2 separate regions of the Homo sapiens genome follow, and region 2 is linked to region 1. The links are contacts of gene promoters, found by promoter capture Hi-C in human tissues and cell types (Jung and others, 2019). All regions are on one chromosome and are shown on one strand. The core of a region is centred on a gene start or on the middle of the fragment in contact, and the rest is flanking DNA. Distances in the headings are between cores, read along the strand shown. Region 1 holds the start of CERS1 (ceramide synthase 1). Region 2 holds the start of TMEM161A (transmembrane protein 161A).

Region 1 (7,044 bases), core at 1,023-3,522:
GTCAGCCCAAGGGAGTTGGGCTGGTGGGGGTGACCCTTGAAGGGAACATGGAGGGGGTTATATGGGGGCATCTTGGGAAACACAGAGAGCCCCATGGGACCGACACAGAGGGGAGAGGAAGAACTTGTGAGGAAGCCGCCCCCTCAGTGGGAGATTCTGGAGAGGCTAGAGGGCTGGGAGAGACTAGGGGGAAGGTGTGGCGGGGACATGGGAACCTGGGGGCGATGAAAGGGGAGGAGGGGCTGGAGGCAGAAAAAGGGGACAGGAGGCGGAAAAGGTGTCACAGGCGAGGTGAGACCCTGAGGGGACATTGGGAGTGCAGAGGAAGCTGCTGGCTCCAAGGCAGGGGTTGGGGAGTGCGGTGGGTGGGTGGGTGGCGGGGCGCGGCTCCAGAGCTGCCCGGCCAAGCCCCACCCCTGGACAAGTCCCACCCCCTTCCCAGAGGCTGAGGGGGCCGGAGCCCAGAGCACCCAGCAGTTGTCATGGAGACAGCTGGAGCCGGCTCCGGTAACCCCTGGCAACCAGGCTGCTGCCAAGAAGATCAGCTTTGGAACACCCGGCAGCCCCTCCACCCATTTCTGAGGAAGGGCGAGCCTCGAAATGGGGCGAGCACCCCACCCAAGGGGCTGGGGAGGGCCCCCGGGGCTCGGCCCTGGTAGTCTACCAGCCGCCACATCCTCCTGTCCCGCAGGGGTGGGGGACGGCTTGCCCTCCTGGGTCTCGGGCTTCCCAGCTGGAAACTGGGAAGAAGGCAGGGGCAACAAGCAGGATAAAGACCACTGCGGACCCAGGGAGGGGCCCTGGACAGCCCTGTCTCCCCCTCCCACAGTAGGGGTGTGGCTGGGGTCTCTCCCTCATGTGGGTGATATGGGGACGGGAGTGGGGAGAGTGGCAGTCAGACAACATCCCATCATCGACCTCACAAGGGCCAGCCTCTTCCCGGCCAGCAGAGAAAGGCCCCTTTGTTGGCGCTGGGCACATTGTCCCTGCACCCTCCAGCCAGACGGGCGGGGTGACACCAGCTGGTCCACGGGGGTGTCCAGGCCAAGCTAAAGGCCCAAACACCTTCCAACCAGCTCCTGCCACAGCGACCCCTCCCCAGGGAAGTGAGTGGGGTCAGGCGCCAATGTCACCATCATGGTCACTCTCTCGCAGGGGCGATGGTCTCCGCAGAAACTGGGGAATTCTGCTGTCGCCTCTTGGAGGCAGCACAGTCCAACCCTGAAGCCCCGGGCCATGTCACCTCCAAGGGAGCGACCACTGGCGTGGCCAGAGCACCCAGGCCCTTGCCATCCCTGGTCGGAGGGTGGCGCTGACCCCAGATAGGCACAAGGCAGCGACCGGGCAGCTCCTGCCTCTTCCCGATTACAGCGGGCAAGCCGGCCCCGCCGCCGCACGGACCCAGCAGAAAACGGGCAGCGGACCTCGCTCCGGGCCGGGGCGCAGCCCGCATGGCAGGGAGGCGCATGGCGCAGGCCGCGGTGCGCCGAGCCCTCCCGTTCCCGGTCCTGGGCTTCTCAGTGTCTGGCTCGGCCCTGCCGGAAAGAGCGCGCGGTGGCCGGAGCCATCCACCGCGCGGGGCCCCCTGGTCCCAAACTGACCGGAAAGGGCCGTGCCTCGGTCCCCCACGTCTCAAACATCCCACCTGTCTCGGGCCCCCCATGTCCCAGACTCACCCCAGCCCGGCCACACCCCCGCATCTACCCGGTTCCCCCACGCAGCACTGTCTGAAGGGGGCGCGCGGCGGCCCGAGAGACCTTATCCTGGGGCTCCAACGTCCTGGGCCTCTCCAGCCCGAGGCCCCCACCCACGTTCCGGCGACCCCTTCATCCGCAGCAGCCAGCGCTGGAAGAAAGGAACGCGCCGGCGGCCCCAGGTCCCCGGTCCCGGCTTCCCCCAGTCCGGGGTCCCCTCGTCCCGGCCCCCGGCCACACTGACCCGAAAGAGGCGCGCAGTGGCCGCGGAGCGCAGGGCGGTCCAGCCCAGCGCGCCGAGCGCCAGCAGCAGCAGCTCGGGCGGCGCCAGGTGCGCGTGCTCAGCCAGGCCGCGACGCGCCAGCCCCCAGCCGCAGTCCGTGCAGCCCCGCGCCGCCGCCAGCGCGCTGCCCCAGCCGCGCTGCACTAGCTGCGCGTAGCTCGGCATGGGCTCGGGCCCCGTCGGCCCCGCCGCGGGCCCCGCCGCCGCCATACCGCCCGCTCGCCCGCCGTGCCCGTCGCCTGCGCCCGCCCGCGGTAGCCGACGGAGCCGCGCGCCCCGCGTCACGCGCCGCAGCTGGGCCGGGGGCGCGCGGGCGGGAGAGCGGAGGGCGGAGGGGCGGGACCGGCGCAAGCTCCGCCCCGCTGGGGGCGCGGCTGGGGGGCGGCCAGCGGGGACGCGGGGCGCCCTGGAGGCGGGCCCGCGCCCCTGCCCGTTTCCCAGCAGAGAAACCCAGGCGCGGGGGCCGGAGCTGGGGGCCCGTTGGACCTGGACCCCGAGAGACCCCGCGCACCGCCGTGTCGCGCCCCCATGCCTGCCCCGCGCGCCCCCCGCTCCCCCACCCCACCGCGCCGTGCCCGTGACGGGGGGCACGGGGGACACTAGCAGGCAGTCCCCTCGACTGGCGACCCCCGCTTCTCCCGGCCCTCCAGCACGCCACGCCGCTCCCGCTCCATCGCCCCGGCCCGCTCCGACCTCACCGTTCTTGGAGCCCTCGCTCCTTCTCAAGGACCCGAGGCCTGGCACGCCTTGGCACAGTCTTGGGACCATCCCGTGGCCCTCCCGCATTCAGGAGGCGTAGGCTCAATGAAACATTCTCATTCTTCAAAAGGACACGGCCCACGCCAGGGCGTTGGGAGGCGCACCTAGTGGAGACGCAGCTCTCTGCCCTACACCAGGAGCTTGGCAATGGGGTTCCAGCTTGGACGCGGGTACCCTGGGCACTTCCCAGGCATCTTCTTCTGCAGGTCTGCACAGCGGGCTACTGGGACAAAGGTGTGATGGGGGCTGCTGAGATTAGGGGGTTCTCTGAGGGTCACTTGCTGCTGTGACCCTGGGGAACCCGGGGGGGGGGCTCCCCAACATCAGGTTAATACATGAGTTGCAGAGAGGCTGCAGGAGTGGGTGCCAACGTGGGAGGGACTCCCAATCTGGATCGACTGTGACATCATTGGGACCACCATAAGTGACTTTCCAATGCACTGTTCATTGACAAGGCCCTGTGCCCAAAGCCACTGAAGGCCATCGAGGAAGACACTGGTCACCTCTGTTAGGACCGCCATCTCCCCAGGCACTGCTGCACCCCCCCTCCATCCTAGCCCGCAGGATGTCCCCACACCTGGCCTTCAAGGTGCAGGATGCAGGGATGAGTCCTGCAGCAGCCGCGCTGGCTCCCGAACACCTGCACCTGAACTTCAGGGGCACAGGTGAACACACCTTCCCCTTGCCCCACACCGAGTCCCCCACAACACATCCAGGTGGCCCTGCATCTGGCCACTTCTCTGCATCTGCACAGCCTTGCCCCCCGCTCCCCGCCACCACCACCACTACCACCACTACCCTCTTCCGTCTGGTATCCTGGCTTCCTCCTCACCCCACAGAGGTGAGAAGGTGGCTGCGACGCTGTTGGCCTGTTCCTCGTCTGCTTGCAGCCCTCTATGGCTCCTGTTCCACTCAGGGAAAGCCCAAGTCCTCACTGGCTGCCCTCACAGCGCCCTGTTTCCCTCCGCCTGTGGGCTTTTCTGCTGTTCTTCCAACATGCCAAGCTCTGTCCTGCCTCAGGGCCTTTGCACTAGCTGTTCCCCCCTCCTGAAATGCTGTTCCCCTAGGTACCTGCATGGCTCTTCTGCCACCTGCTCAGGCTGCCCCCGACTCTGAAGTCACACGCCCCTCATGTCTTCATGTCTGCTTGGCACTTGTCACCATCTGCCCCTACATACATACAGCTCATTTTTTTTTTTGAGTTGGAGTCTTGCTCCGTTGCCCAGACTGGAGTGCAGTGGCGCAATCTCAGCTGACCGCAACCTCCGCCTCCCAGGTTCAAGGGATTCTCCTGCCTCAGTCTCCCGAGTAGCTGGGATTACAGGCGCCTGCTATCACACCCAGCTAATCTTTGTATTTTCTGTAGAGACAGGGTTTTGCCATATTGGCCGGGCTGGTCTCGAACTCCTGACCTCAAGTGATCTGCCTGTCTTGGCCTCCCAAAGTGCTGGGATTACAGGCATGAGCCACCGTGCCTGGCCCCACTCTTTATTCTTGAACGTGGACTCCATGTGGACTAGGGGCCTAGTGTAGGGGTGGGGCACGAGGCTTGGCCTGGCCAATAGTTCAGGTCCAGCCGGAGGCCAGAGATGTGACTAACGCCACAACCTGCCTGGCAGGCAGAGGGGGACGAGGGGGATATGCTCTCAAAGGTCCAGCCAGGCCTGTGGGGCAGCCGTGGACAGTCCCAGCCACCTCCCTCCACCCTCTCGGCCAGCACTATCTGGTCACCATGGCGCCCATCGGTCACGGGAGAGGCGCCACCCACCCACCCACTAGCCCCAGCTCAGCCTCGAATTTCTTTTTGGCGGGTCCAGCCAGGAGGCTGCCAACGGGTGGGTGCAGGGCAGGAATGGAAGGCGGCTCTACTGGCAGCTGGGGACCAGGCACCCAAGGCTGGGCGGAGGTCAGTCTTGAGGCCAGTGTCCCCCCACCCACCCCAAGGTCTCCTCCCTCCAGAAAGCTCGGCCTGGACCCCTCCTAATGTCCCTGTCCAGGGAGTCCTCTTTTGCCACTTCCCTCCCCTACCAGGCTGGGGGTGGGGGTCGCTTGCTGTCCTGCCCTGGCAACCAGAGACGGGGTCTGGTTTCAAATGAATAGGCCTGGGTGTGGCTTGGGGAAACCCAGTCTTATCTTTTCCCTGGGAGATAAGCCCAGGCCAGGCTCAGAGGTCAAAGGGCATGCATCCCCATCCAGCGCCCCTTGACCTCACAGCCCTGTGCCACCGAGGGACCTCTGCACCGGTCATGCCCACTGCCAGGGTGCCTGTCCCCCTAGAACCTAGCCTGGCAGCTCCTTTTTGTTGTTCGGGTGGGCACAGCTCAATGGTGACATCTGGGAGGCTCCGGCCAGCCCTGCTGCCACCCACCCACCTCCCTCCCTAAATGGTGCGGCCGCCTCTCATCGCGGCTGGGTGCTTGGCCCCAGGACCCTGCCACAGCAGGACTCTGCCTTGGAGGAGGGTTTGCGGGGCGGCAGGAGCAGCACCTGGGGTTAACGCTGACCCTGCAGGGCCCCTCCGGCTTTGCTGAGCTGAGGCCTGAGTTTTTCCTGCCCTGGCCCCCACTTCCTCCAGGCCACTAGGGGTTCTCATTTTGAATCTTGGTGCCCCTCATGATAGCGGCATGACTTCTCTGTGCCTCAGTTTCCCCCGATGCCAACCAGGGCTGCTCAGTGGCCTCTAGGGGCCAGGGTGAAGCATGGGGACAGGGCTGTGCTGCCTCTGGCCTGCAGGAGCAGGTTGTGGCTGTGTGAGGGGCGGGGTGGGGGTCTGCACACCTGCTGCTCGTCACAGACCCTGGTCTCCAGGAACAGCCCTGGATGCCAGTGCCCCAGGACTCTCCCTGAGCGTCAGCTCCCACACGCCCCCAGCAAAGTGACCAGAGCACATCATCAGGTGGAACACCCTGGAGTTGAGATATTTATTAACAGATGGGGGTGCTGGGGGTGGGCTCCTGCCCCCAGAGGGGATGCAGGTGGATGCCGGGTGGGGAGGGCTGCAGGGCTGGCTCCTGGCCTCTGTCCTGGCTTCATGGTCCTGACAGCTCTGGGCCAGCCTCAGGCGCTGGGAGCGTACTGTAGCACCAGCCTGTCAAAGTCGTTCTCCTTTAGCAAGACACATGGCAACACAGGGTGGGGGCAGGGTGTGGGGAGACAGGTGGAGGGAGAGAGAGAGGGCGCATGTGAGCCCAGGCTGAGCTCCAGGCGCCCCCTGGCCTGGTTCTCGGGGACAGGCCATCCCCACCACTCACCTTGGCCTGGTACTCCTTGATGAAGGGATGGGACCTGTGGGCATCCTTCAGCTGGGACAGGTATCGGTTTGTCACCTGCAGGGGAGGCAGGGAGGCAGGTGAGCCGAACACGGGGACCCCACGGTGGCTCTGACCTGCTGGACAGGGGTGGATTGGGGTGAGAGCCACAGTACCCCAGGGGGCTCCTCACCCTGCCTTGGGACTGGGCTGATCTCGGAGAACCTTCAGGGTGGGGGTGGAGGGATGGGCCTGCCCCCTGGAGAGGCGCTGGCATGGAGCTGGCCTCCGTACATGGTGGGGGATGTATTGTGGTGTTCAGGGGAGCAGGTCGGGCAGGGCCCCAGGTGAGGATGGGTTGGGGGGCACAGGGTTTGTGAGGGAGGTGGGCTGCGGTAGGCATACTGTATACAGAGTTTTCCCAGGGGCCTAGGGATTAGGGCCTGGACCCCAGGCTGGGGTCCCAGGGTCTGGACATTAGGGTTGGCCTGGAGCCCTGGGGGCCGCTTACCTCAGGGGGCTTGCCCAGGTGCTGGGACAGGACGATGAGGTTGACCAGCGTCTCTGGGTAGCCACTATCCTGGAGACACAGGCAGACACGGGGAGGCAGGGTCAGCCACTCCAGCCCCCATGCCTGCCCGTCACCCCCACCTCAGGCAGCACCACACAAGGTCACCTCCTCAGAGGTGGGGTGGGACTGACACCGCCCACCGCTCTGCAAGGTGGAGATCTCAGATGATACGGTGCCAAGGGGCCAGCCGCCTCGCTGAGCCTCAGTTTCCCCATCTGTAGTCCAGCCTGGGGTACGACCCCTTGTTTACAGAGACTTGGGAAGGTTGTATTTGTCCCACACATCTCAAAGCCATGGGGCCCAGACCCAGATGGCCTCAACTCCTGCTGTACAACGAACCCCGAGGCCATGGGCAGACCTGCCACCCCTGCACCAGCTCCCAAGGAGCCTTGAAGGAGACCTCGGCAGGGGACCTTGCCTGACTCACTCACTCTAGGCTCCCAGCACACAGGACCCTAGGAAACATCTAGGCCAGGAGACCCAGCCAGA
Region 2 (6,936 bases), core at 9-2,508, 240 kb after region 1:
CCATCCCTCCACCTCCCCACAGCTCAGCTCTCTCCTCAGCCCTCCCTGCACCCAACCACTGGAGTCTCAGAGGTCTTCCTGGACCTTTGGGCTCTTCATCAATGACCCCACCACCCCCCAAAACCCCCCAAGGGAAAAGGTGGTGGAGGGGTGCATCTCTCCACCTAAGGCTCCCAGAGGTCTGTCCAGGGATGTTCTGATGGCCCTGCCCTCCACCCAGCCTCCTGTCTCAGGGTCAGGGCTCTGCAGACATCTGCAAGAATTTTCTGGAGTCTTCCATCAGCTCCTTCTTTTCCCTTCACTGGATTTACGATTCTCGAACTCAAGAACCCTGATAAAATCAATGCAGCCTCCCTCCTCATTCCCGGGAGCCTGTGCCTTCATCTCCTACGGCGTCCTGCACCTCCGCCTGGGACGACGCCCCACTTTCAATAATTCCGGCCATCAGTGCCCTTCCTTCAGGGCCATCTCCAGCGCCCCTCCTCGGGGATGGTCCCAGGCAGAGACCCTCCAGTTCCACGTCCCTCTCTCTGCCCAGGCCGGTCCCGTCAGGGTTGTGGGAGTCCCCCATCTCCCTGCACCAGCCTGACCCCCAGGGGCTGGGCTAAGTTTTAAGAACACACTCAATAGGTTGGACCCAGAGCCGCGTGAGACCTGAAGGTTCCAACTTTCCTGTCTCCCACTCTGAGAACCTTGCCCGCCCTGAGGCCAACCAGACCTCCTGAGTCCACCTCCCACGGCCTCCCCTGCCCGTTCCACACACCCCGATATAGCAGGGACCCCCGATGGATCCTGTCGGCGCGGCCCCCACGCTCCTGCAGGACCCCCGTCCCCAGAGTGGACCCCCAACAGGACCCCACACCGCCTTAACCAGGTTCCAAATGTGCTGGGGTCCCCAGTCCCCTCTGTGGGACCACGACCCCTCAAAAGGATCCCAGACCCCTAAAAGGTCTCGAGGGCAGAATCCCCAGAACGCTTAGGGGCTTCTAGTCCCCCTGGGTACAACTCCCGCCGACTCCCTCGGAGGTCCTGTAGCGAGAGCAGGGCTCCCAGAGAGGGACACACGGCCTTCAGCGTGCCCCCGAATCCCTCAGAGCCTCCAATCCCCAAGAAGAAACCCCAATCCATTCCCTCAGTGTCTCCCTGGACCCCTTCGGCTGGACCTCGGCCCTGCAGAACCCCCCACTTCGCGGGACGCTCGCTCACCATGACGCGTGCGAGAACGCGGTGCACTCACCCACCGGCCTAGGGCTCCGGGCACTCTGCGGAAACTCGACCAATTAGAGCCCGACTCTGGTCTGACGAGCATCCCGTCCGACCAATCAGTGTGTCTTGAGCCGGCAAATCACCAGGGACGAGGAGGCCGCTCGCGTTGCATGCCGGAAATTGTAGTTCAGATACGCTGGTTCGGATCGATCAAAGTGAAGATTGTGTCTGGGAGGCCTGCGTGGCCGACCTCTCTTAAGGCTTAGTTTTCTCTTTCCTACACTTATCTCAAAGGTTTGCAGCGAAAGCATTTATTCCCACCTAAGGGACATTTCTGAGAGTAGAATTCCCTCCCCCCATCAAGAACATTCAATGGCTCCCACTTAGTAGACGAAGTACTTAGTACTCCTAAGTACTAAGTAGGCTAAGTACTCAGACTGAATTCAGACCCTTCTGCCTGACTTAAATCTGCTGCTAGCACTATTGTGCACCCTATAGTACAACTTGCACCCACCATGCTGTCTCATACCTCCAGGCCTTTGTAAATATCCTACATCTTGCAATGCCTTCAAGAATGCCTCAATCTTAAAATAAAAACAAAACAAAAGCAAAAAAGAATGCCTCAATCTTTTTCACCTGGCAAGTGCCTTATTCATCTCTATCAGCTAGGACTCTGGCTGTGCTCCACAAAATATCAACTAACATGGGTTCAAGCAAAAAAGGAAAATTTTTGGCTCATGTGACAGAAAATACTAGCCATAGTGTCAGCTTCAGGCGTGGCTGGATCAAGGACCAAATGTCAGCTTCAGGGATCTGATGTTCTTTATTTCACCGCTAGGAGGAAAGGGCTTCTGGTGTTTGTGCCCCGGTTTTGCCATTTGTCTTTCTGTGGATGAGTGTGTCTGCCTGAGTGTAGACATATATTGGGTATGACTGAGTGTCTGAGCATCTTTATGGGGGTGGGTTCCTGTGTGTGGGGCCTGAGTAATTACCTTTTCGTTTTTACATTTTATTATGTATTTGTGTATTAATTTTTTTTTTTCTTGAGACGGAGTTTCGCTCTTGTTGCCCAGGCTGGAGTGAAATGGTGTGATCTTGGCTCACCGCAACTTCCGCCTCTTGGGTTCAAGTGAGTCTCCTGCCTCAGCCTCCCGAGTAGCTGGGATTACAGGCATGCACCACCACGACTGGCTAATTTTGCATTTTTAGTAGAGATGAGGTTTCTCCATGTTGATCAGGTTGGTCTTGAACTCCCGACTTGAGGTGATCCGCCCACGTCGGCCTCCCAGAGTGCTGAGATTACAGGCGTGAGCCACCGGGCCTGGTTTATATTTTATTTTTTTAACTTTCGGCTGGCAAGTGCTGAATCCTAAGCGCACTATCGCACGCCACCTCGTGGTGGAGGGCAAAAGCGCAGTCTCCCTGGGATGGAGAAGTCAAACCAGTCTCACTTGTGGCCCTGGGGGCTCCCAGCCTTAGAAAGCGGCCCATAGTTTTATGGACCTCACACTGGGTGCTTAGCCTGTGGGCACTAACATCAGGGACTGGCCTGACTTCTTGTCCACCGTGAGGGTGAGATCCAAAGGCTGGGAAGGCTCTTTCTCTCTGGCCATGCCTCAGTTTCCCCCAGGGTACCCGCTACCTTGACCCTTTTCCTCTTGCTCAGTCCCTGGCCCTGGTCTGGATGTGCGGGGTTGGGGTGCCAGTGAGTAGGTAGGTCTTCAGCCCATGTGGAAGGAAGGCCAGGATCATTGTCGGGGAGGTCCTCAGAACAGAAGGGTGGGTAACTGGCTGAAGAGTTTGCATCATCTGTGCATGTAGCAGTGGCGCTGCTGGAGGTGGCAGGAGCTGCATGCTCAGCTGGACCTCCACAGCCATTGATCACTGCCATGAGGACCGTGGCTCACCCCTCCTGAGTGGGGAAGGGACAGAAGGGACCAGGTGGGAAGTGTTGAAGACTTGAGTCCAGCCAGGCATGGTGGCTTGGCGTATGCCTGTAGTCCCAGCTACTTGGGAGGCTTAGGCTGGAGGATCGCTTGAACCCAGAATTTTGAGACCAGCCTGGGCAGCACAGCAAAACACCCATCTCTAAAAAAAAATTAAATTAAAAAAAAAGTTAAATTAGCCCAACGTGGTGGCTCAAGCCTGTAAGTCCCAGCTACTCAGGAGCCTGAGGTGGGAAGATTGCTTGAGCCCAGGAATTTGAGGCTGCAGTGAGTCGTGATCATGCCACAGCACTCCAGCCCTGGCAACATGACGAGGAAAAAAAAAGAGGCTGGGTGCAGTGGCTCATGCCTGTCATCCGAGAACTTTGGGAGGCCAAGGTGGGAAGATCACTTAAACCCAGGAGTTCCAGACCAACCTGGGCAACATGGGGAAACCCAGACTATACAAAAAATACAAAAATTAGCTGGGCAGGCTGGGCACAGTGGCTCACGCCTGTAATCCCAGCACTTTGGGAGGCTAAGGGGGGCGGATCACAAGGTCAAGAGATCAAGACCATCCTGACCAATATGGTGAAACCCTATTGGGTTTCTACTAAAAATACAAAAATTAGCTAGGCGTTGTGGCTCACGCCTGTAGTCCCAGTAGTAGTCCCAGCTACTGGGGAGTCTGAGGCAGGAGAATCACTTGAACCCAGGAGGCAGAGGTTGCAGTAAGCTGAGATCTTGCCACTGCACTCCAGCCTAGCTGGGCAAGGTGGTGTGCACCTGTAGTCTCAGTTACTTGGGAGGCTGAGGCAGGATTGCTTGCACCCATGAGATCAAGGCTGCAGAGAGCTATGATTGCACCACCGCAGTACAGCCTGGGCAATAGGGCAAGACACTGCCTCAAAAATAAAAAAATAGGCCAGGCGCAGTGGCTCATGCCTGTAATCCCAACATTTTGGGAGGCTGAGGTGGGAGGATCACTTGAGGTCAGGAGTTTGAAACCAGCCTGGCCAACATGGTGAAACCCCATCTCTACTGAAAATACAAAAATTAGCCGGGTGTGGTGGCAGTCGCCTGTAATCCGAGCTATTTGGGAAGGACGAGAATCGTTTGAACCCGGGAGGCAGAAGCTGCAGTGAGCCGAGATCCCGCCACTGCACTCCAGCCTGGGCAACAGAGTGAGACTTTGTCTCAGAACAAAAAAACAAAAAAAAAAACCCAATAATAATAAAAACAAAATTAGGCCAGGAGCGGTGGCTCACACCTGTAATCCCAGCACTTTGGGAGACCGAGGTGGGTGGATTACCTGAGGTCAGGAGTTTGAGACCAGCCTTGCCAACATAGTGAAACCCCGTCTCCACTAAAGATACAAAAAATTAGCTGAGCATGGTGGCACATGCCTGTAGTCCCAGCTACTCAGGAGGCTGAGGCAGGAGAATCGCTTGAACCTGGGAGGCAGAGGCTGCAGTGAGCCGAGATCGTGCCATTGCACTCCAGCCTGCATGACAGAGCGAGACTCTCTCTCAAAACAAAAAACAAAAACAAAACAAAATAATAAAAATAAGTAAGTAGAAAAGAAAAAGAAAAAAGACCTGAGTCTGGGTTGGGTGAGCGAAATCTCTAGCCGCACTTGGACACTCTGCAGAGGCTTCAAGTTCACCCCATCCAAGTCTCATTCCCTACAAGCTTCCACAGCACAGAGGATGAAATGGGAGCTTCCAGTCACCCACGGCACGCTCTTCCCTTCACCTCCACCTCCGAGCCGTTCTGGAGTCCTGGTGGGTTTGCCTCCACGCACACACAGAGAGTGATCATTCCAGGGGGCACTGCCTCCCCTCAGCTCCCAATGCCCCCTGCCACGGGAGCCTGGGGAGGGGCTTTTACACACTTTGATCATGCCATATCCCTATCCTGGAAACTGGGGCCCCAAAGCCCCCACCTCACTGGGGATGAGGGTGGCGAAGATGACGTAGGACAAACCTTAGCTGGGGTCTGGGGTGCAGATGGCATCCTATACTCCGCCGTATAAACAAGTGCCCCCTCCGGGTTCTGTCACTTATATACTTTGTCCAGTCTCCCTATCCCTTAAAAGGCGTCCCGCCCATCATCTTGTCTAGGACTGTGTGCGCTAAGGGTGAAATGCAAGGTGCTCAGTTTTACTGAAGAAATCTCTCCCTGGGGCGCTGAGTGACAGAAAGGATTTTGAAATTGTCAGTCAACGTACCCCGCCCATTCTGGCTGAGCTGTGCCAACCAGCTCAGCTTTGGATCTTGGCAGAGTGATTGGAAAGCAGGTGAGTTTGTTTGTTTGTTTGGTTTTTGAGATAGAGTCTTGCTCTGTTGCCCAGGCTGGAGTGCAGTGGCGCGATTTCGGCTCACTGCAACCTCCACTTCCCGGGTTCAAGTGATTCTCCTGCCTCAGCCTCCTGAGTATCTGGGACTACAGGCACACACTACCATGCCCGGCTAATTTTCGTATTTTTAATAGAGACGAGGTTTCACCACATTGGTCAGGCTGGTCTCGAACTCCTGACCTCAAGTGATCCACCTGCCTCAGCCTCCCAAAGTGCTGGGATTACAGGTGTGAGCCACCATGCCCGGCCTGTTTTTGTTTTTGTTTTTTTACTCTTTGAGACGGGGTCTTTTGCTCTGTTGCCCAGGCTGGAGTGCAGTGGCTCAATCATGGCTCACTGCAGCCTTGACTTCCCGGGCTCAGGTGATTCTCCCACCTCAGCCTCCTGAGAAGCTGGGACTAGAGGTGTGCACTGCCACGCCTGGCTAATTTTTTTTTTTTTTTAAGAGATGGGATTCACCATGTTGCCCAAGCTAGTCTTGAACTCCTGGGCTTAGGCCATCCTCCCACCTCAGCCTCTCAAAGTATTTGGATTACAGGGGTGAGCCACTGTCCCCGGCCAAGGCGGATCTTGTAAGTCTTGATCTCAACACTCATGTTTTCCGTCTTCCTGTCCAAATCTGTGAACTCCAACTCACAAAGGTGTTTCTCAGCTTGGGACAGTGTAGAAGGCGTCATGGAGGAAGAGAGGCAGAGCTGGGCCTTGGAGGGTGGGAAGGAGTTTAAAAAGGAGACAAGTTGGGGGTTGAGGGAGGCGCTCCAGGAAAGACCAGTAGGGTCACATGTTGGTACTGCAAATATTTCTAAGGTACTGGAGAGGCTGGGACAGGGATAGGAGACCAGGCCAGACTAGGGTAGGGCAGCTGAGGAGCCCAACTTCCTTCTAAGGATGAGGAAAAGCTTCAAAGAGATGAGCAGAACATGGCAGAGGCAGATCTTTTAAATTTTATTACTGTTATTTTTAGAGACAATGTCTTGTTCTGTCACTCAGGCTGGATTGTAGTGGGCTGGTAATAGCCCACTGCAGCCTCCAACTCCTGGGCTCAAGGCATCCTTCCTCCTCAGCCTCCCAAAGGACTGGGATTACAGGCAAGAAGTAATTTTTTTTTTTTTTTTTTTTTTGAGACGGAGTCTTGCTCTGTTGTGCAGGCTGGAATGCAGTGGCACGATCTGGATCTCGGCTAACTGCAACCACCACCTCTTGAGTTCAAGTGATTCTCGTGCCTCGGCCTCCCAAGTAGCTGGGATTACAGGCATGGGCCATGAGGCCCAGCTAATTTTTGTATTTTTAGTAGAGATGGTCTCAAATTTCTGGCCTCAAGTGATCTGCCCGCCTTGGCCCCCCAAAGTGCTAGGATTACAGGTGTGAGCCACCGTGCCCGGCTAGAAGTCAGTTTTTTATGTTGTCGTTGTTTTTGATGTTATTTTTGAGATAGGGTCTCGCTCT

The links. The method cuts DNA at HindIII sites, captures the fragments that hold promoters and counts their contacts. A contact is called where the count stands out against the background at its distance.
Region 2: the fragment with the promoter of TMEM161A here is called in contact with the fragment with the promoter of CERS1 in region 1 in 1 of the 25 tissues and cell types used here (lymphoblastoid cells).

The regions. Positions count from the first base shown.
Region 1 is chr19:18,893,886-18,900,929 of GRCh38, forward strand. CERS1 (ceramide synthase 1) reads right to left here and starts at 2,273. Exons shown (of 8, transcript NM_021267.5): 1 at 1,939-2,273. The coding sequence starts at 2,187. GDF1 (growth differentiation factor 1) reads right to left here and starts at 2,273. Exons shown (of 8, transcript NM_001492.6): 1 at 1,939-2,273. COPE (coat protein complex I subunit epsilon) reads right to left here. Exons shown (of 10, transcript NM_007263.4): 8 at 6,496-6,564; 9 at 5,988-6,062; 10 at 5,629-5,841. The coding sequence ends at 5,794. RefSeq lists a silencer at 1,274-1,323. The HindIII fragment of the contact is 24,852 bases long and covers 1-7,044 here.
Region 2 is chr19:19,137,220-19,144,155 of GRCh38, forward strand. It overlaps TMEM161A (transmembrane protein 161A), which reads right to left and starts at 1,259. Exons shown (of 12, transcript NM_017814.3): 1 at 1,207-1,259. The coding sequence starts at 1,209. RefSeq lists enhancers at 641-1,502, 987-1,196, 1,477-1,666 and a silencer at 1,257-1,336. The HindIII fragment of the contact is 19,527 bases long and covers 1-5,606 here.